Regions from separate parts of the Homo sapiens genome. Here regions 2, 3, 4, 5, 6 and 7 are each linked to region 1. Evidence: promoter capture Hi-C in 16 types of primary human blood cells and fetal thymus (Javierre and others, 2016). All regions are on one chromosome and are shown on one strand. The core of a region is centred on a gene start or on the middle of the fragment in contact, and the rest is flanking DNA. Distances in the headings are between cores, read along the strand shown.

Evidence for each region. The method cuts DNA at HindIII sites, captures the fragments that hold promoters and counts their contacts. A CHiCAGO score of 5 or more calls a contact.
Region 2: a fragment that was not itself captured here is called in contact with the fragment with the promoter of HSPB2 in region 1 in 1 of 17 cell types (neutrophils); the score reaches 6.2 in neutrophils.
Region 3: a contact is called between a fragment that was not itself captured here and the fragment with the promoter of HSPB2 in region 1, in 1 of 17 cell types (neutrophils). The highest score is 5.0, in neutrophils.
Region 4: a contact is called between a fragment that was not itself captured here and the fragment with the promoter of HSPB2 in region 1, in 1 of 17 cell types (erythroblasts). The highest score is 5.4, in erythroblasts.
Region 5: a contact is called between a fragment that was not itself captured here and the fragment with the promoter of HSPB2 in region 1, in 4 of 17 cell types (total CD8 T cells, naive CD4 T cells, naive CD8 T cells and 1 more). The highest score is 6.1, in total CD8 T cells.
Region 6: a fragment that was not itself captured here is called in contact with the fragment with the promoter of HSPB2 in region 1 in 2 of 17 cell types (naive CD4 T cells and total CD8 T cells); the score reaches 5.1 in naive CD4 T cells.
Region 7: a contact is called between a fragment that was not itself captured here and the fragment with the promoter of HSPB2 in region 1, in 2 of 17 cell types (total CD8 T cells and erythroblasts). The highest score is 6.8, in total CD8 T cells.

Annotation. Positions count from the first base shown.
Region 1 is chr11:111,911,484-111,914,818 of GRCh38, forward strand. It overlaps HSPB2 (heat shock protein family B (small) member 2), which reads left to right and starts at 1,251. Exons shown (of 2, transcript NM_001541.4): 1 at 1,251-1,440; 2 at 1,958-2,610. The coding sequence starts at 1,347. The coding sequence ends at 2,412. It overlaps CRYAB (crystallin alpha B), which reads right to left and starts at 287. Exons shown (of 3, transcript NM_001289808.2): 1 at 41-287. The coding sequence starts at 241. HSPB2-C11orf52 (HSPB2-C11orf52 readthrough (NMD candidate)) reads left to right here and starts at 1,253. Exons shown (of 5, transcript NR_037651.1): 1 at 1,253-1,440. RefSeq lists an enhancer at 2,002-2,655. The HindIII fragment of the contact is 6,880 bases long and covers 330-3,335 here.
Region 2 is chr11:112,303,791-112,307,319 of GRCh38, forward strand. All of the region lies in intron 2 of LINC02762 (long intergenic non-protein coding RNA 2762), which reads left to right. Among named protein-coding and RNA genes, the nearest start is that of LINC02762, 35 kb to the left of the region's middle. The HindIII fragment of the contact is 9,013 bases long and covers 1-3,529 here.
Region 3 is chr11:112,231,061-112,234,854 of GRCh38, forward strand. It overlaps PTS (6-pyruvoyltetrahydropterin synthase), which reads left to right. Exons shown (of 6, transcript NM_000317.3): 5 at 2,103-2,173; 6 at 2,372-2,913. The coding sequence ends at 2,495. Among named protein-coding and RNA genes, the nearest start is that of PTS, 6.5 kb to the left of the region's middle. The HindIII fragment of the contact is 7,627 bases long and covers 1-3,794 here.
Region 4 is chr11:112,285,767-112,289,267 of GRCh38, forward strand. All of the region lies in intron 1 of LINC02762 (long intergenic non-protein coding RNA 2762), which reads left to right. Among named protein-coding and RNA genes, the nearest start is that of LINC02762, 17 kb to the left of the region's middle. The HindIII fragment of the contact is 2,402 bases long and covers 141-2,542 here.
Region 5 is chr11:111,557,383-111,560,819 of GRCh38, forward strand. It overlaps LAYN (layilin), which reads left to right. Exons shown (of 7, transcript NM_178834.5): 6 at 159-261; 7 at 2,713-3,437. The coding sequence ends at 3,076. Among named protein-coding and RNA genes, the nearest start is that of LAYN, 18 kb to the left of the region's middle. The HindIII fragment of the contact is 3,362 bases long and covers 1-3,173 here.
Region 6 is chr11:111,536,950-111,540,411 of GRCh38, forward strand. It overlaps HOATZ (HOATZ cilia and flagella associated protein), which reads left to right. Exons shown (of 6, transcript NM_001100388.2): 6 at 1-94. It also overlaps a transcript of LAYN not described here. Among named protein-coding and RNA genes, the nearest start is that of LAYN, 2.0 kb to the right of the region's middle. RefSeq lists an enhancer at 2,874-3,462. The HindIII fragment of the contact is 2,351 bases long and covers 696-3,046 here.
Region 7 is chr11:111,580,784-111,584,199 of GRCh38, forward strand. No RefSeq gene overlaps it. Among named protein-coding and RNA genes, the nearest start is that of SIK2, 20 kb to the right of the region's middle. The HindIII fragment of the contact is 2,267 bases long and covers 1,034-3,300 here.

The DNA of each region.
Region 1 (3,335 bases), core at 1-2,500:
CCAGTAAGGACTCTCCCGTCCTAGCTGTGGGGAGACTCACCTCTGAGAGTCCAGTGTCAAACCAGCTGGGTGCCCGCAGGAAGGAGGGTGGCCGAAGGTAGAAGGGACTCAGGGAAGTAGACGTCGGGAAAAGATCAGACTCCAACAGGTGCTCTCCGAAGAACTGGTCAAAGAGGCGGCTGGGGGAGTGGAAAGGAAAGAAGGGGCGGCGGATCCAGGGGTGGTGGATGGCGATGTCCATGGTGGCTAGGTGAGTGTGAGGGGTCAGCTGGCTGGTCAGCTCCTTCAGCTGCAGCTACAGCCAGCCCCTTATATATGCAGTCTTGTGAAGCTTCTGGAATGGTGATGTCAGGGGTTTTATTATCCTAGCTCACCAGCAGTTCATGGAGACTTGTGATCCGGGATTTGGCAATGTGACACATACCCAGTACTCACTGAGCTAAGAAAAGAGAGACACAAACACGTCTGAGCCGGCCAGTGACTTGTCATGGTCTTGTTTCACTAGCTTTCTGTCCACACCCAATGGCACCCACCCCCACCCCTGTTCTCTGAAGCTGGTACAGAGTCAGGAATCCCAAGCAGGCACGCGGGGTGGGGGGAGGATGGGAGCCGGCGTAGTGTGCCCCTCCTCCTCCTTTCCAGTCCTGAATGCCAGGGGAATCAGGCCAGCAACTATCTTGGGCCTGGGCAGGGACTGGAATCTTCCTAGGCTGAGCCCCAGGGACATTAACTCTTTGTGAGTCCTTGGAAGAGAGCAGTGATGGTCAACATGTCAGCACCAGCCATCTGCCTCGTGCCCTGGGTTGACCTGGGTTTAGGAGAGGATCCCACATCTGGGCAGAAAGACCCCACCCCCTGAAAAAAGAGCAAACAGATTTCTTGCATCTTTCGTTCTATGTGGCTCTCAGAACATTAAATCCAGGAGTGCTTTAGGAATTGGGTGCACAGTGCCTGCCACCGAAGAGGAGAAAATGAGGTGTGGAAACGTGCAAACCGTTTGTGAGGGTCTCAGCGAGGCCTCTTCATGCCCCAGGCACCACCAGCTCCCCCTCCCCAGCTCGTTCCCAGCCAGGACCCTCAGCTGTCCTCTCAGGCCCCCTGCGACAGCTGAAGAGTGTGCGGGGGAGGGGACTAGGGGTCCGGGCGGCGCTGGTCACACCCTCGTTGCTCTCACTCAGGGCCCCCACTCCCAGCCCCTCCCCCCCCAAGAGGCTCGGCACTATTTTGGGTGGTGTCGACCCCGCCCCCACCTCCTATCGAGCCCTGGCTCTCCGGGCAGCTGGAGGGGTCGCGCTGCGCCTGTTGGGGCTGCACCTCGGACCAGGGCTTCTGCTGCATCTGCAGCCATGTCGGGCCGCTCAGTGCCACATGCCCACCCGGCCACCGCCGAGTACGAATTTGCCAACCCGAGCCGCCTGGGTGAGCAGCGCTTCGGAGAAGGTATGGCACAGACACCACCCCCTTGCCCCCCACCCCCACCCCCTGAAATTCTGGGCTGACCTCCCAACGTTGCTGGCCTCCACCCCACTCTGGGCTTAACTGATCTCCTGGGACCAGCCACCCCCCACCCCAGACTACCCCTCATCCCCTCCAAGCAGAGATCTTTCCCATTCCTGCTGACCTCAAGACACACTTGGTGCTTGCAGTGCTGATACCTGCTCTTTGCCGGCCTGGGTGTGCCTCCTTGTCCCCCTTCTATCCACCCAGGCCGTTTGGTGCCTCCTCCTCCTCCCCCTCCTCCTCCTTCTCCTCCTCCTCCTCCCTTTCCTTTCCGTTCTCTTTCCCCTCTTCCGAGCTGCCTTCTCCTCCTAGCTACAGTGTGGCCTCCCTCCCGTTCCCTACTCCTCCTGACTCCCCTCTTGCTCTTCCCAATCCCTCCTCTCCAGATTTCCCATTTCGCCCCTGTGCCAGCCTCATCCTCCCTCATCCTGCCTCTTGCCTTCTCTCTGCCCTTTAGGCCTCCTGCCAGAAGAGATCCTGACCCCCACACTCTACCATGGCTACTATGTCCGGCCTCGGGCCGCCCCAGCTGGGGAGGGCAGCAGGGCAGGGGCCTCCGAGCTTAGGCTCAGTGAGGGCAAGTTCCAGGCATTTCTGGATGTGAGCCACTTTACCCCAGACGAGGTGACTGTGAGGACTGTGGATAACCTGCTGGAGGTGTCTGCCCGGCACCCCCAGCGCCTGGACCGCCACGGCTTCGTGTCCCGAGAGTTCTGCCGCACCTATGTCCTGCCTGCTGATGTCGACCCCTGGCGAGTCCGAGCTGCTCTCTCCCATGATGGCATCTTAAACCTGGAAGCACCTCGGGGTGGCCGACATTTGGACACAGAGGTCAATGAGGTCTACATCTCCCTGCTCCCTGCGCCTCCTGATCCAGAGGAAGAGGAGGAGGCAGCCATAGTTGAGCCCTGATTGCCACAGACCCAGCACCCAGCAAATCCCTCTCTACCTCCCAAGGTGATATGGGCAGCTGCCCACCACTCCAGAGGTAGCAGCATCCTTGGGGGAAGGGAAAGGTGCATGGTCCACAATGTATGGTTTGGTCCCATGGGACATGTCATAGCCTTGGTTTAGTTTTGGGTGGAGCTGAATAAACCCAAATCTCAGGGCCTTGTTTGTACTGCTCCCTATTCTGTGGCCGGGAAGCTGGGATGGGGAGGGAGGGAGGAGGTCACAGCCAGCTAGACAAAAAGCTCCTCAGTTTGATGTGCCCAACGTCATAGGACCCTGAGCTCGCACTTGGATGCTGAGATCACACCCGGAAGCTGACTCTGGCTCCAGATCAAATTCCTAGCCATAATTTTCTCACAATGCAACAAAAGAGAGAGTGATCCTGGGAGGGAAAAGGGATATGCCATCCAAACAGCCCAGAGGGCACTGTCTGAGCTGGTGATTAGAGACACAAAAACAAGGGTCTCCAGACTGTCTGGCCCTTTTTGGGTAGGGGCTGGGAAAATGGTTTTTGGCTGGTGAGAGTTGCCTAAAGTCCTGGAGTGAATACTTTGTTTTCATGTACTAAGGTCTGTCCACTTAAATGGTCACTGATTTTGAGAGCCTGAGTATGCATACACAGGGCACAGACACAAAGCCTCTCCAATTATCACGGAACCCCATTACCTTCCCATCCTCTGGGGGTACGGTGTATTCAGGAAAGCCTGAGGTCTGTCCCCTCAGTTATTCTCTGCAATCAAGAGAACATCCAGCTACATGATTTGGGGGAAGTGTCCAAAAGACCTTCCTGCCTCCAAATACATATTTCATTAGGCTGTGGTAGATACCTACAATTCTTCCATTAAAGCAGTTGTTTCTTGGCTGGGTGCAGCAGCTCACACCTG
Region 2 (3,529 bases), core at 506-3,005, 390 kb after region 1:
TCTTACCTAGAATCTGCATCATTTACTGATTCATCCAGCAATCATTTACTGATGCCTATTCTAAGCCAGTCTAGGGGTTGTGCTAAGTTCTGGATATATTAAAAAAAAAAAAACCTAGACATGATTCTTACCCTTGGGGCACTCCTGGTTTAGTGGGGGGATGAGTTTTTAAGTAGATAATCATAATGCAATAATAAGATAACATTCCCTAAGTACCATGTATCCTTTCAAAATCGCTCTACTCATTTGACGCTCATGATCACCCTAAGAAGCAGGTGCTGTTTTATATAGTTTGCTGCAGATGAGGCACAGAGAGGTTAAATAATTTACCTAAGGTCATACAGCTGATAAGTGGCAGAGCTGAGATTTGAACCCAGATGAGCTGGCTCCAGACGTCAGGCTTATGACTGGCGTGCTTTACTGCCTTGAAGTGGGTCAAGCATGGTAGTGGGTACCCCAAGTGTTACAGGCATATGGGGCAGGGCCTGGTGGAGGTGTTGGGGTGGTTGAGGGAGTTCTGGGTCTGGTGATGTGTAGGAGGTAGCTTGGTGGGGGCCTGGGCAGCTGAAGTTTCCTTCCCTCCCTTCTTTGTTTTTCCTGCCTTCAATATTTCCTGAGCATGTGTTATGTGCTGGGCAGGCTGCTAGGTACTGGGGACCAAGGATGGGCTTAATGTAGCCTGGGAGAGCCTTGTACATACCCTACTTGCCAGAGCCACGTGGTCGGTGTTCTACTAGCAGCATGGACATGAGTGGCTGCGGGAGCAGTGTGGAGGACTTCCTGGAAGAGGTGAGGAGCCCATCCTGTGGGAAGAAGGGGAAAGTTGTACTTGGTATGGCTGCTCCAAGATGCTTAAGTATAGATTTTTTATTTTTATTTTTTTGAGATGGAGTCTTGCTCTGTCACCCAGGTTGGAGTGCAGTGGCGTGATCTCGGCTCACTGCAACCTCCGCCTCCTGGTTTAAGCAATTCTCCCTGCCTCAGCCTCCCAAGTAGTTGGGATTACAGCTGCCTGCCACCACGCCCAGTTAATTTTTTGTATTTTTAGTAGAGATGGGGTTTTGCCACATTGGCCAGGCTGGTCTCAAACTCCTGACCTCAGGTGATCTGCCCATCTCAGCCTCCCAAACTGCTGGAATTACAGGCATGAGCCACCGTGCCCAGTCAAGTATAGATATTTAATCAAGTCAGTTGAGCTCTGAGTTCTTGTTAGTCAAGGTTGGTGAGAAGTCTAAAAACCAGTCATTACTTGGGGCACCCCCCTGACAAGGTTTTCCAGGAACCCCATAACAGATGTGGGTCTCAGTCTGTGGGTTCCACTCTGCAGGGATCTGAGACTGCTCTTGAAAGCTGCTCTTCCACCATCTGTCTAGCACTGTGGCACCTCCTGAACCCATCTTGCCTCACAGCCATGTCCAGACCAGCCTGGTCTCTTGGACAGCTTTGGGGGTGGCACCAGTCTCACCACACCTCTCTGTAGCTCCCAAGGCTTGGTGACTTCATTTCACTCAGCCCCATGCAGCCAGCAGCCTGTATAATCTGAGCCCTCACCGACAGGCTGCCCTGGAGCCCACCCTCCTTTCTCCTCATTTGAACTGAAATATAGAACCGTATTGACCACCCTCTGGTGACTGGGGAGCCTAGACCTTAGGAACAGTTCTTAATTCTTATGAGCGGGAAACATTCCTTTCCAGGGACTCTGGAGAAACAAGATATGAAGTAATTTCCCAGTAACTGTAACAAGAGCATTCCAGACAGAGCAGGCAGCGTGTGCGTCCCTGTGCTGGGTCTGTTGGGAGTCCTTGCGCAGGGGTATAGGCTGTCACTGGGGGATCAAGGGGAGAGGGTGGTTGGGGAAGCTGGTGGAGGCCTTGAAGGCCCAGCTGGTGGGAAAAAACCCAGCATTTACCCGAAGCAGGGCACTGATGTGACCAGATCTGGAGCTTAGGCAGATTGGGGTAACTCTGAGTGCATGTGTGTGTGTGTGTGCACGTGCGTGTGTGCACGCTCACGTATGTGCACGGCCATGTAACAAAACTCAACTGAGAATGACCTAACCTACTGTATGATTTCCTCCAGGGTGGGCCCTGGGATTGGTGTTGTCCTGGTCCCTTCTGGAGTGATGTGCTGTGTGGGACTACACAGCCCGCGGGCCTGCAGCAAGGTGCTTGTCCCGCTTCACCTTGGCTTTTATTCCAGGCAAAGCCGAGAGCAGGGTGGAGAGATGATAGCCCATGTCCCAAGGGATAGGTGAGCAGCAAAGACCAGTCAGAGCAGTGACAACGTTAATTTTGTATTTTCATCCTTGGGAAACCAAAAAGGATGGACCTTAGAAGACTCTTCTGTCCCGGCTCCTTAGCAGAAGTGAGGGAGAGATGAGACCAGAGATTTTTCATTTCCCCACCATCTCAGCCAGATCCAGTTGCTGAGCTGGATCTGGAGCTTCCTCTCTGCACCAAGAAGATGCCCAACTCCCCCTAGTCCTCAAATGACTGCAAAGTCAGGGGGACTGCAAGTGACTCCAGAGCTGGGTAATGAGATCAGAGGAAAAAGTGCCCAGCTGTGACATTAAGTGGGATTTATTTTCATCATCTCAGGTTCCCTATTGTATGGCATACTCCTTCACCACCTGCACATACAGCCATATTTTAGGATACAACTGCGAGGGTTTCAGGGCTCTCTGAGAAATAATGGCTCTGTGCTGTCACTGCATAGCTGTGCCCTTTCAAATATACAAAACAGGAAGGTGACCTGCTGATTCAGTGGAAGGCAATAAGCCACACATTCAATTAGAATGACATACATTTAATCACAATTGTCTAATGGTATTTGAGATTTCTTATTTAATCAGTAATGAGGCTATCCAGCAATTAATGTTGCTGGAATCGTGGCTGCCCTTACCAGCGCAGTGTTGATTTTAAACTAATCTTTCTATTTTATATTCTCTTTCTATTTCTGGAGTTAATAAAGGTGCTGTAATGAGTTGTATTAAAACATCAATTTCTTCTTTTGTTGCACCCACAAGTTTATCATGGTTTTTAATCAAAATACTGAGGTACTGTAGGAAAGGGTTTTCCACGTCAGGTTTTGCCTGGATGGAGAAGCCAAGGTGGGAGATGGTGCGTCTCACTTGTTTCTGACTCTCCCAGCTGTTTGGGCCCCCTCTGGAGAAGTTTGAGGACAGGGACAGCTTCATAGGTGACCTGTGAGGTTGATCAAGGCCCTGTGCTTAGAAGGGCCCTCAGCTTGGTTTGATGTTCTGCTATTGCTGTTTTGAAAGTCTGAATACCTTTTGAACAAGGGGCCCCTACATTTTCATTTTGCACTAAGCCCTCCAAATTGTGTGGCCAATGCTGTTTGAGGATCTGTGAGAATGGGTGTGTGTTGATGGTCAGAGGGCAGTGCACGAGAGGCTGCCCCCAGTGCCTCACCTTGAGTTGGTGCTATGGGACCCCAGGCTGCACAGGGCAACGTGTGGCGGGCAGAAGAGGCTGATAGGGACAGGTGAGATGAGATCTGTTTCTGGGTT
Region 3 (3,794 bases), core at 574-3,073, 320 kb after region 1:
TTTTCTTTTTGGTAGAGGTAGGGGTCTCACTATGTTGTTCAGGCTGGTCTCAGACACCTCCTGCCTTGACCTCCCAAAGTGCTGGAATTACAGGCATGAGCTACTGCTCCTGGCCTTCTCCTTGGAGCTTTCTCTTCCCTCTCTGAATATTCCTTGTACCTTTGATCATAGATTTAGACACCACACTGTGTTGTTCATTCTAGCTTTATTATAAACTCACCAGAGCAGTACCTCATAGAGATAACACACAAGGTGTTCAATGAAGAACTTAACTGATTGTGTCATTATAGAATTCTTGCACTGTAAGAGACTTTGGAGATTATTCAGACCAACTTCTTCAACCCATAGATTAAGATTGAGAGATGCTGAACAGTTAACTGACTTGCCCCAGGTCATATGGCTAGTCATTTGCAAAGCTGGGAGTAGATTTCTTTCCTTCCAGCTGTTTTATTATGCTGTCATTTCACTTGCAGCTTAGGTTTGTTCTGAGATTTGACATTTGCTTGATTAAAATGATGTTATTAGTAATGATTACTTCTTTCACATTACTTATTCATATATTCAACAAATTTCTCTACTTCGCATCAGTTTTTGAGCTAAGTGTACAAAGATGAATGAGATGTAGCCCACAGAGTGTATACATTACTTTTTCTAGGAGGTGAAGAATATTATTAAATAACTGTTGATTTAATAAATGAGTAGAAGAATGAGTGAATGAAGAAACAGCACTATGCTCAAAATACTTTAGGAAAGTTATACAGATAGGGCCAGCATGCATTTATGGGGCAGGGGTTGGGGGGCAGGCGGAGAGAGAGAGAGAGGGAGACAGAGACAGGAGAAGAGGAGGGGGAGGGGAGGACAGGGGAGGAGAGGGGAGGGGAAAGAAAGAAAAAGAAAAAGAGAAAAGAAAAGAAAAGAAAGAAAAGAGACAAGACAGCAACATAAAAGGCCTCAACATATGACTAAATACTGGAGGAGGGCTTCTCTATGCTGTTTTCTGCTTTTGTATGCCTGAAGGACACCACACACTTTCATCAGTAAAAGTGGCTTATCATGGCATGTAGAGTAAAGTTAGAGCTCTACCGTGGGGGGAGGATTGCTTGAGTCCAGGAGTTCAAGGCTGCAGTGAGCTATGATTATGCCACTTGCACTCCAGCCTGGATGACAGAGACCCTGTCTCTAAAAACAAAACAAAAGAAAACAAAAAGCCCTGCATAAGAGGCTTTAATGGAGAAATTGGGACTGGAACTGGGATTGAAGATGAAGCAAGGATGCCCGTTTTCTTGTTATTCATGTGGAACATCCCTTCATTGGATATATTTCAATAACTGTTTGATCTAGGACTTACTCTTTTTGTATGATTCTAGTTTTTCTCAAGAAATGATTGCTGTTACTGTTATTAATGTACCCTTCTTCAAACTACGTCCTATGGAAAATTACATTTTTTTTTCACAGATGCTTAGATTTTTTGCAATAGCTAAAAGCAAAAACCTAGAAAGAATGAGGCAATTTAATCCTTGCTGATGATGAGGAAAAACATTATGTTAATATACACGAGCATTAGGGAGTAATAGTCTTTACATATATATATTTTTCCTTCTATGAGCCCAAGATCATTCTTAAATTATTCCTCATAGCAAAAATTTAGAACTACTTACATAATTTCAGTCTAGGTCTGCTTTATAAAATGTAGTAGTCACTGGATCTTTGTCCTTATGATATTGTGGCATTGTTCCGTAGGTGTGACAGTGTTATGGAAAAATATTTGTGCTAACTGTTTGGACAGGATTCACAAAGTGTTAAACTGAATTCTGAATTACAATGGCTTGTGTTGCGAGAAAGCTCCAGGAATTCTCTGCTTTTTGGTTTCTCACCTCTTTTTATTCAGTAACAAGGATTCCTAATCATTACCGACAGCTGGGCCTGACTTTATTTTACAACTTGAAATTTTGTAAAGTTGCCTTGTAAGACTCAAATCTAGTACTTACAAATATTTAGTTAGTGGCTAAGTGATAAGGTGAGGTTTAGAGGCATAAGTGGAACAATTTGGAATTTGAGTCGTAAATGGAGTCAATGATATTTTCCCTTGGTTTTGTCTCTAGGAGGCGATTATGCAGCCCCTTGATCATAAGAATCTGGATATGGATGTGCCATACTTTGCAGATGTGGTGAGGTGGGTGGCACTGTATCTTGCCTTATGTGGATTGTAAAACAAGAATTGATTTGAATACTTTGATTGTTGTGTGATTTCTGAAGTTTTAATTTAATGAAATCTTTCGAAACTAGAATTTCTATTTTCTGTAAATATTAAACATGAAATTTTATTGTTTGCATTTTGAATTTTTTTTGTTTTTGTTTTTTTTTCTTATAGCACGACTGAAAATGTAGCTGTTTATATCTGGGACAACCTCCAGAAAGTTCTTCCTGTAGGAGTTCTTTATAAAGTAAAAGTATACGAAACTGACAATAATATTGTGGTTTATAAAGGAGAATAGCTATTGGGGTTAGCATTGCACAAAGCCCAGTTTCTTTCTGTGTTTGAAAAAGATTTTGATCCCCTTGGAATATTAAGAGGTCAACACGTGATTGTTGTACGTACACATTGTGCTCTGGAGTGCCTATTTATTGAAATCATTGTAAGACCTGTTATAAATTTAAGTCTATTTAAAACTAAACTTGTAATATACATCCTGAAAATCATTTAGAGAGTCTTTTATTTATAAATTAAAAATCACTTCATTTTCACAAAATGTTTTGGTGTGGGATTATTTGAAAGCAAAAGAAATCTAATTTTGTTTTCTCCATTACCTCATTTTAGTATTAATTTTTACTTGGTATAATATACATGGTTAAAATGCTTATGTGACTTCGAGTAGGTGAATCTTAAAGAAATAAAATTCAAGTGACCACAAAGTCTGGAGACAATATATATATGTATATTTAATAGATTGAACTCTCTTGATTACTACTTGTTGGGTGTGCTGAAGGCATAAGTGGATTCAGTGAAAATTAGACACACAAATCATGTGAGGCATCTGTTGTGGATACACGTACAAATATTGATGGAAATGCTGCTTTAGAGCACATCATTCATTACAATTTTGCACAGCGTATTGAACTATGAATTGCTAGTGAGGAACAACACATTAAACATATCATGGAATATCAGTAAATTATTCAGTATACTCCTCTGAATTTCTGAACCTGATGGGCACTTGAATAATTTCAACTCAGAAGACTGCAGAATAATCATATTTTAAACTCTAAAAAATAGTCAGCATAAAAAGGATCAACTACCATATAAAATATTTCCTGTATATAGTTTTTCCTAATTGATCCCATTTTGTTCTGATTATTAAACTTACTATATGCTTGGCATTCTTCTCTGGGATCTTTTCCTCGTGACTAAATCCACAAGAAAGTATTTGCTTACTTTGCACGGAAGACTGTTCTGTGTTCTTGTTTGTTTTCTAAATGTCTTAAACGCAGGGTTCTGATTTTCTCTCCACATAGCAACTAGTATACAATGAATTCCCAGAATGTTGTTGCCTGAAAATAGTAAAAGGACTTTTGCAGTGATTACTATTCTAGAAAAACTTGCAAAGAATAGTCTTTTCTAGTGATTGCAGAAATATAAAGTTTGACAGTAATGCAAATGGCCACTGAATTATATTTGAATGTATTTTAGTTATCAAACAATTTGTTCTCTATGTAGAATGTTTTGTATTGATTACTTGAAAGGCAGATAGCTGTTATTTATTAAGACACTTTATGTTTTAATTCACACAAATACC
Region 4 (3,501 bases), core at 92-2,591, 370 kb after region 1:
CTCTTTCTTGCCTCTCCAAGTTCAGCTGCAGAGCAGCTGCATTCCTCAGTAGGCAGTGGGAGAGACTCTGTCTTTCTCCTGCGCTGCAGCCCGTCTCATCACAGGCTTCAGGTGGTCCCTTTGGGCTCCCACAGCAGTCAAGCTTCCTGCGCATGATTAAAGGGATGCTGGTGCTTCTGAAATAAAGCACCAGGGGCAGAGGCTGATGGCTCAAGCCCAATCCCCAGGTCTCCCAGAGCTGGCTTCCCTGGTAGGCAATCACAGACTTTGCAGGGAGGAGCCATCTCCTTTGTTCTTATGTGTTGCTTCTTTCTTGCTACCCAGGCTCATGTTAATTGCTTTTCTGACATTTTTTCTGGCAAGTGATTTTTGCTGCTGCTTGTGGAGGTGACATGGCAAGCCCACAAGGGAGCGATAACAATGACCTAATGCAGAGCCGAGGAGGCTGGGGCTCCTATACGGGGTAGAAGATAATGAAGTTGAGTCATGAACAATTTGTTCTAAATGGTCAGTGAGATAGGCTCAGAGCCTTCAGAAATGAGAGTAGCCTGTGGCCAAGGCTTTCCTGAGAAGTTGTTCCCTCGGCCTTTGTAGTTCTGGCAGACCACCCTTCCTGGTGCAGGGACCTCAGGATGTGGGAACCTGTGCACAGGGCTAGATGATTCCTAAGGTCTTCCAAGAGCTTGTGAATGTCGGCAGCACAGAGACTAGAACTATGATGATCCTATCTTCCCAGCTACCTGTCAGAACACGTAGTCTGGTAATCCAGCAACTCCATTAGCCCAGATATTTATTCCACTTACTCTGTGCCAGGCATGGTGTTAGCTGGAGACATGACAGTAAATGGGTCACAGTTCCTACCTCAGTTCAGCTCACAGCCCGGATGGGAGACAGACCCACACTTAGATAATTATAATGCAGCAGGGCGAGTACCAGGATCCAGTGATGTATGGGGGTTATTCTGAGCACAGAGGAGAGGTCTCAGGGGCCAGGACAGGCTTCCTGGAGGCAGCACCAACACTACTGAGTCTTGAATAAGCAGAAGTTATAGCTGGGCCAGGCCAAGGGGAGTATAGGGGTGAGGAGGGAAGAGCTGATTTCTTCTCCTGCCTGAACCACCTGTTTAAAAGCAACATGGGGAAACAAAGCCATATGAAGAGGGGAAGTTGACAAGCACAAGTCCCTTGACTCTACAGAACAAATTTTAATCTCCCTTTCTTTGTACGAGGGTCTCCAACTCAGTGTCCAGCCACCCAAGCTCTAGCCTGTGGGGACCCTTCATAACTCCTCCCAGGGGGTCAAGGCAACCCAGCATTTCCTGGGGGATGCAGATGAGTGTGGCCTAATAATTCTTGCTCCAATCAGCGACTGTCTAAAATGTGGGCAACCTGAGCACCCAGTGCCATCCAGAGCTCAGGGTAGGTGCTCATCATGTCCTTGATTGCAGCTGCATGTGTGTTTGCCTCTTACCTGTCATGATGATCAACAGGAGCTCGGCAGTTGTAATCAGCAACGAGAGTTACACATGTCATTAGGTTTACAGAGTAACATGGGCCAGGCCAGAAGATATGTCTGCAAGAGGTCTCCTTGGTATGGCCAGCTATGGCCAGAGGAATAATAAAGGCAAGGCCTTCCCAGGTGGGCACCTCTGCTATTTTCTACTGGAGGCAGGGGCTGAGTCCTCGAGTGGGGAAATGCCGATGTGGCCAGTTTCTCTAAGGACTCTGGGGCTCTGTTGGCCCCTTGGCTACATTTCTTGACTTTGCCATTGTTATTATTAGCTTTTCTAGGTGGATAATGGGATAATGGGAGGCAATGTGGTTAACATTTTTTTTAAAAAAAATAAATGTTGGCCGGGTGCGGTAGCTCATGCCTGTAATCCCAGCACTTTGGGAGGCCAAGGCCAGTGGATTACCTGAGGTCAGGAGTTTGAGACTAGCCTGGCCAGCATGATGAAACCCTGTATCTACTAAAAATACAAAAATTAGCCAATGTAGTGGCTCATGCCTGTAGTCCCAGCCACTTGGGAGGCTGAGGCAGGAGAATCGCTTGAACCCAGGAGGTGGAGGTTGCAGTGAGCCGAGGTTGTGCCACTGCACTTCAGCCTGGGTGACAAGGGTGAAACTCCGTCTTAAAAAAAAATGTATTGTGTGTATCGAAGGTATCCAACATGATGTTAATGTGATTTTATGAAAAGCAGCCTTTGCAGTCAAGTAGACATGAACTTGAATCTTAGCTCTGCCACTTCAGCTGTGCAGCTTTGAACACTTAACTTCTTTCAATGTGAGTTTCTCATCTATTAAATGGGGTTAATCATGTCTATTTGTATCTATTTCCAAAGAGTGTTGTGAAGATCCAAGGGGATAGCACGTGTAAAGCACATTCTTCTTACCTTTTATCTCCCTGAGCTGAGTGTAGAGGCTGCAGTCATTCATTGAACAATTGTTTATTGTCTACTTATTGCTAACCATTGTTGCGGGTTCTGCGGAAACAGTAATGAACAAAAGTCTCTGTTCTCATCAAGTTCACATTCTGGTGGGGAAGCTTGAAAATAAGTAAGTAAACTAAGCAGGATAACTTCAGATAGTGATAAAAGCTATACAGAAAAGGAAACAGGCCCATAGGATAGAAGTGATTTGGTGGGAGGCCTGAAGAGGCTTTAGGGAGCACAGTGGTCTTTGAACCAAGACCTGGAGGCCAAGAAGGAGCTGGGCCTGCGGAGACCTGAGGAAGAGCATTCCAGGCAGAGAGAAGAGCAAGGGCACAAAGTGCTGAGGTGGGAAAGCATTTGGCAAGAAAGAAGATGCTTGCAGGAGGAGCACTGTGAACCCTGGGGAGTGTGGGATGAGGAGAGGAGCAGGAGTGAGTTCCATGCATGTTCCCAAACTCTGTGCTGAGGTGTTCTTGGAGCTGCTGTGGATTCAGAGGGGCTCTTTGAGATATTTTAAAGGCCAAAGGCAACACTCAACTTTTGTTGGGCTCCATGCAAACTACTAAGTAGTGCAGGATAGCTTGAAGACTCAATATTAGATTGCCCTACAGTTTTTTTTTTTTTTCCTTGAGATGGTGTCTCACTCTGTTGCCCAGGCTGGAGTGCAGTGGTGTGATCTTGGCTCACTGCAACCTCCGCCTCCCAGGTTTAAGAGATTCTCCTGCCTCAGCCTCCTGAGTAGCTGAGAATACAGGCACATGCCACCACGCCCAGCTAATTTTTGTATTTTTAGTAGAGATGGGGTTTCTCTACTACTACCATGTTGGTTGAGCTGGTCTCGAACTCCTGACCTCAAGTGATTCACCTGCCTTGGCCTTTCAAAGTGCTGGGATTACAGGTGTGAGCCACCACGCCTAGCCTGCCCTACATGTTTTTTGATAAAACCATATTTTTCTGAAGCTACATTTTCAGTTTTTGTCATTTGCTGTGACATAAAACACGTACCATGGGAAAATCAATATAGAATAGGAAATGAGGGCGGCAGCGTCTAATCCAATTCCAAGGTCTGA
Region 5 (3,437 bases), core at 243-2,742, 350 kb before region 1:
AGCCTTTTCCTTTGTTTTGTTTTTTAATTTTTTAATTTTAATAGATTTGGGGGTACAAGTGGTTTTTGACGATTATGCTTTTTTTAAGCCTGGTTTGAAGCACAGAAAAACAAAACAAAAAACAGCCAATGCTGATCATGTGCTTTCTTTCTTTTCAGAAGCTGCCTTGAATCTGGCCTACATCCTAATCCCCAGCATTCCCCTTCTCCTCCTCCTTGTGGTCACCACAGTTGTATGTTGGGTTTGGATCTGTAGAAAAAGGCAAGTAAAACCTTCATTGTGTAAACCTTTGCATCTTCTGCTCTCTTTGAGATTTGGATATTGCCTTGTTTACTTCATTAAAACCCACGGCAGCACCAAGAGTATCACCATTGCAGATTGGAGAGTGGGTTCTCTGACAGGTCAGGGCATTCAGAAGTACTAGGCATTTGTGCTTAGTTGTGATTAAGAGAGTGATCTTACTTGCTTTACTGTCTGTACGTGGAAGATTTTAAAACAACTTGAAGGGTGAAATTGCATTATTCACCTCCCGTGCACTCACACGTCACCCAGCAAAAATGCTCTCATGAATGTATGCCCTCACTCTGAAAATGTTTGTGGACTGAGTGAAGGAATGAATAGTGAGCCATATGAAAAATGACTGCTGCAAAGTATTCTGGTAAACATCTGAAACTAAACCACTTAATTCAAACTGAAAGAGCCAAATTCCTTTTAACTGACTTTTCTTTTAATTCAGTACACAAGTATAGAGTGCTATAAAATAGCTACACTAGGTGGCATCAACAATTTCTGTATATGGTCAGGATCGTGTGCCACTATTTTATTTTATTTTATTTTATTTTTAGTACTGAAAGCTCTTCTCAGTTACCTTTTTATTCTCCATCATCATGGTATATGGAGAAGATGTCTAGTATTCCCATTTACAACAGGAAAACTAAGGCCCAATTTAAGATTTGACTCCCTTTAAAGACCAATTTGAGATGAATTAGTAAGATTCCAATGTAAAATCTATTTCAGTTAATTGTAACTTCCTTGTAGGATTATTATAAGGATTAAGGCAGTTAATACTTGCAGAATAAGTATATACTAAGCACTTGAATGTTACCTATTATTGGGATTATTTTATTAGTTATTTCCTTTGAATCTTAAAGTAGAATTTAGTTCAAAAAATTACAGGCATATTTTCCAGCTGCCTACTCTGCCTACTCAGTTGGTTCTTGATTTCCTTTCCTGACTCTCTGTTTTGTACTTTAACAGGATTTGGGAATTGTGACTCTAAAGCTGGGGTGTCTGTCTATCCCAAGGGTTTTTAATCTTTTTTGTGCCCTGCAGCAGTCTGGTGAGGCCTATGGACTCCTTCCAGAACAATATTTTATTTTATTTATTATTTTATTTAAAAAAATATATATATATATATATATTTGAGACAGAGTCTTTCTCTGTCGCCCAGGCTGGAGTGCAATGGCGCAATCTCGGCTCACTGCAACCTCCGCCTCCCGGGTTCAAGTGATTCTCGTGCCTCAGCCTCCCAAGTAGCCGGGATTACAGGCACATACCACCATGCCTGGCTAATTTTGTATTTTTAGTAGAGATGGGTTTCACCATGTTGGCCAGGCTGGTCTCGAACTCCTGACCTCAGGTGATCCGCCCACCTCAGCTGCCCTAAGTGCTAGGATTACAGGCATGAGCCACCACACCCGGCCCAGTACAATATTTTAAATGCATAAAATAAAATACATTGGGTTGCAAAGGAAGCAATCATACTGTTATATAGTTTAGCAAAATATTTCCAAAAATGAATATGTGATTAGTAATACATGTACTCCTTTATTAATGCTTCTTTATTTAGTGCTGGGTATAATTATTATAATTTTGAAGTAGAGATGAGGTTAAAATATTTCAAGGCATCTATAACTGTGATATGAAAACATCTATAATTTCTAGTAGTGATCAAGTCAAAGATATTAATCCTGCTGTTTTATCTCTTACATTCATAATGGAAGGACATGCTAAATTTCACTTATGGATGAGTCGTGTTTTTTGTTGTTTTGGTTTTATTTTATTTTATTTTATTATTTTATTTTATTTTATTTTATTTTTGAGACAGGGTCTCACTCTGTCGCCCAAGCTGGAGTGCAGCGGTACCATCACAGCTCACTGCGGCCTTGACCTCCCAGGTTATCCTCCCACCTCAGCCTCCCAACTAGCTGGGACTGCAGGTGTGCACCACCATGCCTGGTTAATTTTTGTATCTTTTATAGGGACGGGGTTTTAACATGTTGCCCAGGCTGGTCTCAAACTCCTGGGCTCAAGTGATCCACCTGCCTCAGCCTCCCAAAGTGTTAGGATTACAGGCGTGGGCCACTGTGCACAGCTGAGGTGTTTTTTTGTTTTTTTGGGTTTTTTTTGTAATGTGGTATTTTTTCTCTATTCAGTTCTATCCCTGGACACTCCAGGGACTCTAGGGAACCCCAGGATAATAACCCTGCCCACACTTGGGCAGCAGTGAATGACAGATACACAATCACTTTGAACATAACATCTCCCTGTTTGGTTCCCTCCCACTCCGAAGCCCTGGCCTGTAAGTTACATAGACGAGACATGCAGCTGGGTGACTGCCCAGGGCTGCTTCCTCTCGTCTCAACAGGAAGCACAAGGGTATTCTCAATCACCTGGTCTAAAACACTCAGCCCTGGTTTTCTTTCTTCCTAGAAAACGGGAGCAGCCAGACCCTAGCACAAAGAAGCAACACACCATCTGGCCCTCTCCTCACCAGGGAAACAGCCCGGACCTAGAGGTCTACAATGTCATAAGAAAACAAAGCGAAGCTGACTTAGCTGAGACCCGGCCAGACCTGAAGAATATTTCATTCCGAGTGTGTTCGGGAGAAGCCACTCCCGATGACATGTCTTGTGACTATGACAACATGGCTGTGAACCCATCAGAAAGTGGGTTTGTGACTCTGGTGAGCGTGGAGAGTGGATTTGTGACCAATGACATTTATGAGTTCTCCCCAGACCAAATGGGGAGGAGTAAGGAGTCTGGATGGGTGGAAAATGAAATATATGGTTATTAGGACATATAAAAAACTGAAACTGACAACAATGGAAAAGAAATGATAAGCAAAATCCTCTTATTTTCTATAAGGAAAATACACAGAAGGTCTATGAACAAGCTTAGATCAGGTCCTGTGGATGAGCATGTGGTCCCCACGACCTCCTGTTGGACCCCCACGTTTTGGCTGTATCCTTTATCCCAGCCAGTCATCCAGCTCGACCTTATGAGAAGGTACCTTGCCCAGGTCTGGCACATAGTAGAGTCTCAATAAATGTCACTTGGTTGGTTGTATCTAACTTTTAAGGGACAGAGCTTTACCTGGCAGTGATAAAGATGGGCTGTGGAGCTTGGAAAACCACCTCTGTTTTCCTTGCTCTATA
Region 6 (3,462 bases), core at 621-3,120, 370 kb before region 1:
TACGCAGACTTCCAGGAATTTTACCAGTTAGTGAGTACTTGTGTTAAAATAAAGAAATAAAGGTTAAATATGCAGGCTTCTATGAATTCTACCAGCTATTGAATATTTGTGTCTATTTACTTACTGGGTACTACTGTTTGACACCACAACATACATCTCTTTCATCTTACCACATTCTCAAACTCCTATTTATCTTGTTTTCATTTGAAGGGTATTTCCAGAATTTCTATGCTAGATCTATATTATGAATATCAGGTAAGCAAGAAACAGGGGCTTTATGTGTCTTAACTTGTAGACCACCAGTAAAAACAATCAGGAAATAGGAATGAAAGGGCAGTTTTGAAAACTTCAAGTCTACTTGCTTTAATAAGAAAACCACTTAGCAAAATTTGGTTTGTTCCATTTCTGAAACATGTCTGAAGTCAGAAGTGAGTTGCTTCTACCTCTGTGAATAACTGGCTCCACGTGCCTATGTTTTACACACATACATAAACCCAGTGCCAACCCCCCTCACTTTCATTCCCTTTGCTATGTAATGGAAAAGAAAAGATTAAGGATTTGTCCCTTCTGCGCTGTCCAAATGGCAGTCCTACTCAGGGTTAGATGCTCTTCCCCATCCCTCCTTCGAGAGATCTTAGCATAATCCAGGCCCCCTTCTGTCAGAAAGAAAGAACTGGAAAGTGTGTTTATAGTAAAGCTTTAGTAGCAATATGTTTATTATCCACCCAGGAATATTTGCATTTTAAAAGAAGGCTGAATAAAGGGAACAATGGGTAATCCAAGGAAATCAGTTACCAATGATGAAATCTCAGGAGTCTGACTCTTGGGTAAGCAACATGTATTTAGGGTAAGAGGGTTACCCAGAGGTTGCAGCTCTATTTAGGACCACCATTTCCATCACTACTGGCCTCCACTTGGAACTCTTGGACATAGCTTTCATAAGACACAGCCCCCATCCACTGTGCCAACAGAAGACTGGGTGGCCCACTGGTCAGAGCGTAATCACAAGGACACATCAGGCTGCAAGGGAGGCTGGAAATTGTCTTTAGAAAATGGGGAGGGGGCTTCTGTCTAATTAAAATTCAGGGATTCTATAGCCAAAAGAAGTGGAGAATGGATATTAGGGGACAATGACAAGGTTCTGGCACAACGCTATTTGAAGAAAAATGTTCGGAACAAAAGGAAGGTAGTCAGGCCTAGGAAAGGAAAATTTTGAAAGTTATAAATTGGCAGCCCCATCCTAGCACCAGCAAGAATAAAAGGTATCCTGTCTGGTTGATGTATCTGTCTGCCTGGCAGGTAGGTCTTCGTTGTGAAGATGGACACAGCAGGCTATCAAAGCCTAAACTATTAAATCATATAACTAATTCCTTTCATTCTGATTCCATGCTGATAAATCTTTTTTGCCCAGAGGGAGAATATGTGTTCAACAGGCCAATGCAAGCATTAGTTTACCTGACAATTCTATTTCTCAATGTGTAAATATATTAGTCTCTTAGATTGGGTTTGAGCATGTTAAACTAGGAATTGGACCCTGGACCAGGGTAATTTTACCAAGAAAAATTCTACTTTGTGGACTTTCTTGGCAACCAGCCTTCCCCTAGTGATACCTCCCTACATTGCCAAGTGTAATGGTTAGCTATTGCTGCAACAATGCTGCATAACAAAGGGGTCTAAAACAACATTTATTACTGCTCACACATCTGCAGTTTTGTGTGATCTAGTTTGGCTGACCTAGGCTTAGCCAGAGAGCTCTGCTTCAAGCTACAGCACCTAGAGCAGCTCTGTCTCTTACTGCAAGTTTGTCAATTGCCTGAGGTAGCTCTGCTCCATTTGTCATCCTCTTAGGGATACACATAGACCAGTGGGATATCTAAGGTATGTTCCTCTCAGAGAGTGGCAGAGAAGAAAAAGAAATATGAGGCCTTTCTGGTCTAAGCTCAGAACTGACTCATTCTGTTAGCCAAACAAGTCAATCACATGGTCAAACACAAAGTCAAGGTGTGGGGAAATATACTCTGCCTCTTTAGAAAGAGAAACTACAAAGTCATATGGTAAAGGATATGGGTACAGGGAGGTGTGGAGAATTGGGGCCGTTATTGTAATCTACCAGGTTTGGTTGACTGTATACCCTAACAAAATCCATCTGAACCAAGGTCCAGGGTATCAAAGCGAGAAGTCGGGACACGATTTAATTATGTAACAGCTTTTTAAAGTTGTAGCAGATGTTATAATATTAGAAATAAATCCTTTTCAATTGACATTAAGTGCCTAGATATCTGAACATTTACATATATATTTGCCTTATCAAACACTCACTAAACTCTTAAGGCAACTGTTAATGTTACCAACAGTTAAGTGAAACTTAGGCAAACGGAATTGCCAAAGGCCACACAGACATTAAATGAAGAGCAGAATCTGAAACAGACCCTCAAATGCCAACTCCAGTGCTTCTTTTCACCATAACAGTTCTCTCAAGTTGTTTTGATAACCAAGAATTTCTAAGAAGAAAGTGTGTTAGATGTGACATTGACGTATTCTAACTGGGACAGAAGGAAGGTCTATAAATGATCTTGCCATAAAGGTCAGGCCTCATCCTGCCACAACCGCTGTTAGCTGTTACGTGCCGCAGCAGAGCTCCCCCATAGTCTCAGCTGATACTGAAATTCATCCCACTCCCCTCTCACCCCCAGCCTGTATTCAGGCTGTTTGTTTAGAATTGCAGTGGCTAGAGGCCTTAGAAGCATCACTGCTTTCTTGGCTGTTTTGAAAAGCAGAAAGAGTACGTAAGAAGCAGCAAGCTGGAACCAAAATCCAGAGGTCGTGGCCCAGATGGGGCTTCTGCTATGCTTCACAGCAGCATGGTGTGGCAGAAAAGGCAGAAAGTCAGATTCACCTTCTGCTACTTAGTGCCTTAATCTTTGGACAGATGGCTCACTCTATTGCTTGACTATATTTAAAAGCATTTTGTTTACGAAACCAAAGTGAAACACACCTACTTTGGGAGTTTACAAGAGGAAGCACACATTGAGGGCTAGGTTAGGAAAGCTTTTCCTGAGATAATAGTTTCATTCTTTCCTGCGGGGCGAGGGGCCAAAGCTGAACTCCCTAACTATGACCCCCACCTCCCAACCTGTTCCCTGCAAAAAACAGAATCATTTCCTTCCAGGGATCTGGGACATCTTTTGGCTTCTGGTAGAAGCCGCTTTCCTTTCAGTCGGGAGGGCTCCAACTCAGCCAAGTTCTTTGGATGCCATCCGCGCGGTGTCCCATAACTTTCCTGGCCGGTGGGCACACTGCCTGCGTGAGTGTTTGTTCTCTGCATCGACCATTCCCTGCTCAGGCGTCGCCCTTCGTGCTGGGACTGCGGCCTGCTGAGCCCCAGGTAGGAGTCCACGCATCGCCTCTCTCTCCAGGTGCACCCGCACAGCTGGCGAACTTGGCTAAGGTCAGCGGGAGAGG
Region 7 (3,416 bases), core at 917-3,416, 330 kb before region 1:
CTGTGGCCAAGAAAAGAGTATGTAAATTAACTCCTGTCCTTTTGACATGATCCTAGTAATCTTTCATAGCTTGCTTCCTTGCTTTCTGGTATCACAAGATGTTCCAAGTTTATCTGGCATATCCTCTGCTTCAAACCTGGAATCAGCCATTTCTCTAAGAAGACCTGTCTCAAGTTGGGTTCTTCCAGGAAATTGACTCTGAGTTGAATATTTACATGCATTTAAGGGACTGCCCTTAGAATTAACACCTATGGGGGAGGGGCAAAAGTAGGACTGGGCAGAGAAAGCAGTGGAACCACAGTACAGTCACAGCCAATTCCACACAGAACACTGGAGATGGTCTAGCCCTGTAAGATGTCCTGCTTTGAGGCAAGAGAGCCTGACCTTTATAATCCACATTAACCAGTCATTAGATATGGGCTGCCTCTGGGGAGAATGGTATAACCCTGGGTGAGGTGACTCTCTTCATGTTAGGGCAGTGGTTCTCAATCAAGGCACTTTGTCCCCCAGAGACATTTGGCAATGCCTGGAGACATTTTTGGTTGTCACAGCCATGGGTAGGGTGCTACTGGTGTCTAGTGGGTAGAAGCCAGGGATTCTACTAAACATCTTCTAATGCACAGAACAGTCCCCAACAACAAAGAATTATCCAGTCCAAAATGTCAATAGTGCTGAGACTAAGAAACCTTGGTTTAAGACAATGCCCAGAGAGTGATTCAGGGACAGCCAACAGCCACCACTGTTCCCAGCATCCCAGGCCTCAGTTCTGAATGGAGAATCTGGGTGGCAAACCACAGCATCCGCTACATGTCTTGATTACTTTTAGAGAAAACTAGTAAATAGAGATCTCTGTCTGGGAGCTAGGAGTGCTTGTTGCCTGCAGTTTGATCTCTATTTCTAGGCCTATTCAGGGGAGAGAACTAGGAAATTATCTTTTTAATACACATCATTCATTATATCAATATTTCTAATTCAAAATCAGGACTCTGACATAATCCTTCTATTTAGAAGGTATAATCCTTCTATTTTGAGAAGCTTGGAACTTGTTGACCCTAAGAAGTTTCCTGAGAGCCACCTCAGTAAACCATTTTTGAATGTCATTAAGTTTGCATATTAGGGGGTTACAAAAGTAAAGGAAAACTTTGCAGGAAAATGTTCAAAATAATCCAGAATATTGGAATTAGAAGGAACCTAAGAGATCATCTAAACCAAAACTCTGATTTTACAAATGAGGAAAAGGAGGCCTAGAAAAGTTCAGCAGACTTAATCTAAGGTCCATAGCTACTTAGTGCCCTAACCAGGACCAGCATCAGGACACTAACCCCTCATATTTGTTTCTTTTTTCCTGCCTCAGCACTCTGACTCTTCTCTCTAGTATTAACTCTCCCATGCTGCAGAAGAAAATAGAGCAAAGAGGGACAGAAAAGGAGATGAAACTCACTCCTTTTTCACAGTATACCTTGGTGGAACTGAGAACTCAGATCTGTATGCAGAGAACTGAGCACAGATCTGTAGGAAGGAAGTGCTTCTTATCCACTGTTAGTGGAAACATCTGTTTGGTTGTTTTTCCAAAGCACTGTTAGATTGTGCTGTGCCTTCCACATTCTCTCCTGCACTCTTGCTAATGACCAAGCAGTTACACACCAGCAAGGCTGGCCAAGGTTGGGACATCTTAGCAAAGAAAAAGAGCTCAATTAACCAGTCCATGCAGGGATAGAATGATTGATTTGGTCTCATTAGTAGCATACACAAAAACAATCAATTAAGCTGGCAACATGGTGTAATGCCTTTTCAAATGAAGGTAACCCTCTTTTTTTTTTTTTTAGTCAGGGTCTTGCTCTGTTGCTCAGGCTGGAGTGCAGTGACTGGTGTGATCACACCTCACTGCAGCCTCAACCTCAACCTCCTGGGCTCAAAAGATCCTCCTCCCTCAGTCTCCCAAGTAGCTGGGACTACAGGCATGCATCACCACGTCCTGCTAATTTATGCATTTTTTTGTAGAGATGGGGTTTTGCCATGTTGCACAGGCTGGTTTCAAACTCTTGGGATCAAGCCCACCTCAACCTCCCAAAGTGCTGGGATTACAAATAGGTATGAGCCACTGCGCCTGGCCATTAGGAACTGTCTTCTTTCAATTCTTTCCTAGGCATACTAATCTGAACTCTTGTCCTAGTAAGTTGTTTATTATTTCTTCCAGTGCTTCCTAAACTTTTCCACTGAAGTACTGACAGAGAAGAATGAAAGCTACACAACACACACACACACACACACACATGCACACACACACGCACACACACACACACACACACCCCGGTGTGTACTCAAAGCCCTGGGAAAGTGACCCAAAGCAAAATTATTGGGAAATGCAAAATTTTTCCAAAGTCCTGTGTTTATCTTAAATATTCGTTCAAGTCCCACAACCTACTCTGTTTTTCTTAAAGAAACAGAAGTTTAAAAGGGCAATTGATATTCCAGAACATGCAGTATGTTTAACAAGGGCTTTGAGAAATCCCTTCCCCTCCCAAATCATGATATACCTCTTATAACCCCATTTAAGAAACCCAGATTGAGAAATCACTTATATAATAGATTTCTATTGCTCTGAGGTAGAATTCATACTCTTAAAAGTAGTTTGCCTTTTTAAAAGAAATCTGCATTCTATCTACTTATGAAGCATCTATTTTTTTTTTTGTTCTCATTTTAGCAAAATCACTAGTTGTTTCGGTTTTTTTTTTTAAGAGATAGTGTCTTACTTTGTCACCCATGCTGGAGTGCAGTGGTGCAATCACAGCTCACTGTAGCCTTGAACTCCTGGGCTCGAGCAATCCTCTCACCTCAGCCTCCTGAGTAGCTAGGACCACAGGTTTGTGCCACTACACCCAGCTATTTTTAAATTTTTTTGTAGAAATCGGGTCTTGCTATGTTACCCAGGCTGGTCTTGAATTCCTGGCCTCAAGCAATCCTCCCAACTCAGCCTCCCAAAGTGCTGGGATTACAGATGTGAGCCACCATGCCTGGCCCAGTTAAGTTGTAATAATCAAGATTTTCAAATAATTTGTGTTTTATCAACAGTAGTGATAAAAAAGATTAAAATTAAAATATACATCTATTCAAGCTGTATAAATTTTTATATTTTTATCAAAAGTATAATATAAATACAAAAAATTTTAATATGAAATTGTTTTTCATATATTGTTAAAAAGTTATCTTTTCTAAAATATTCAAAACCATCTATTAAAATTAAAAGGCAAAATATACATTAAAATTTGTAATTTTAAAATGGGGATACCACAGACTGCAAGCTTTTATTTTTATTTATTTATTATTATTTATTAATAATAAATGTTTATTAATATTTATTTATTTAAAAGGCTGGAGTGCAGTGGCACAATCTCGGCTCACTGCAGCCTCCGCCT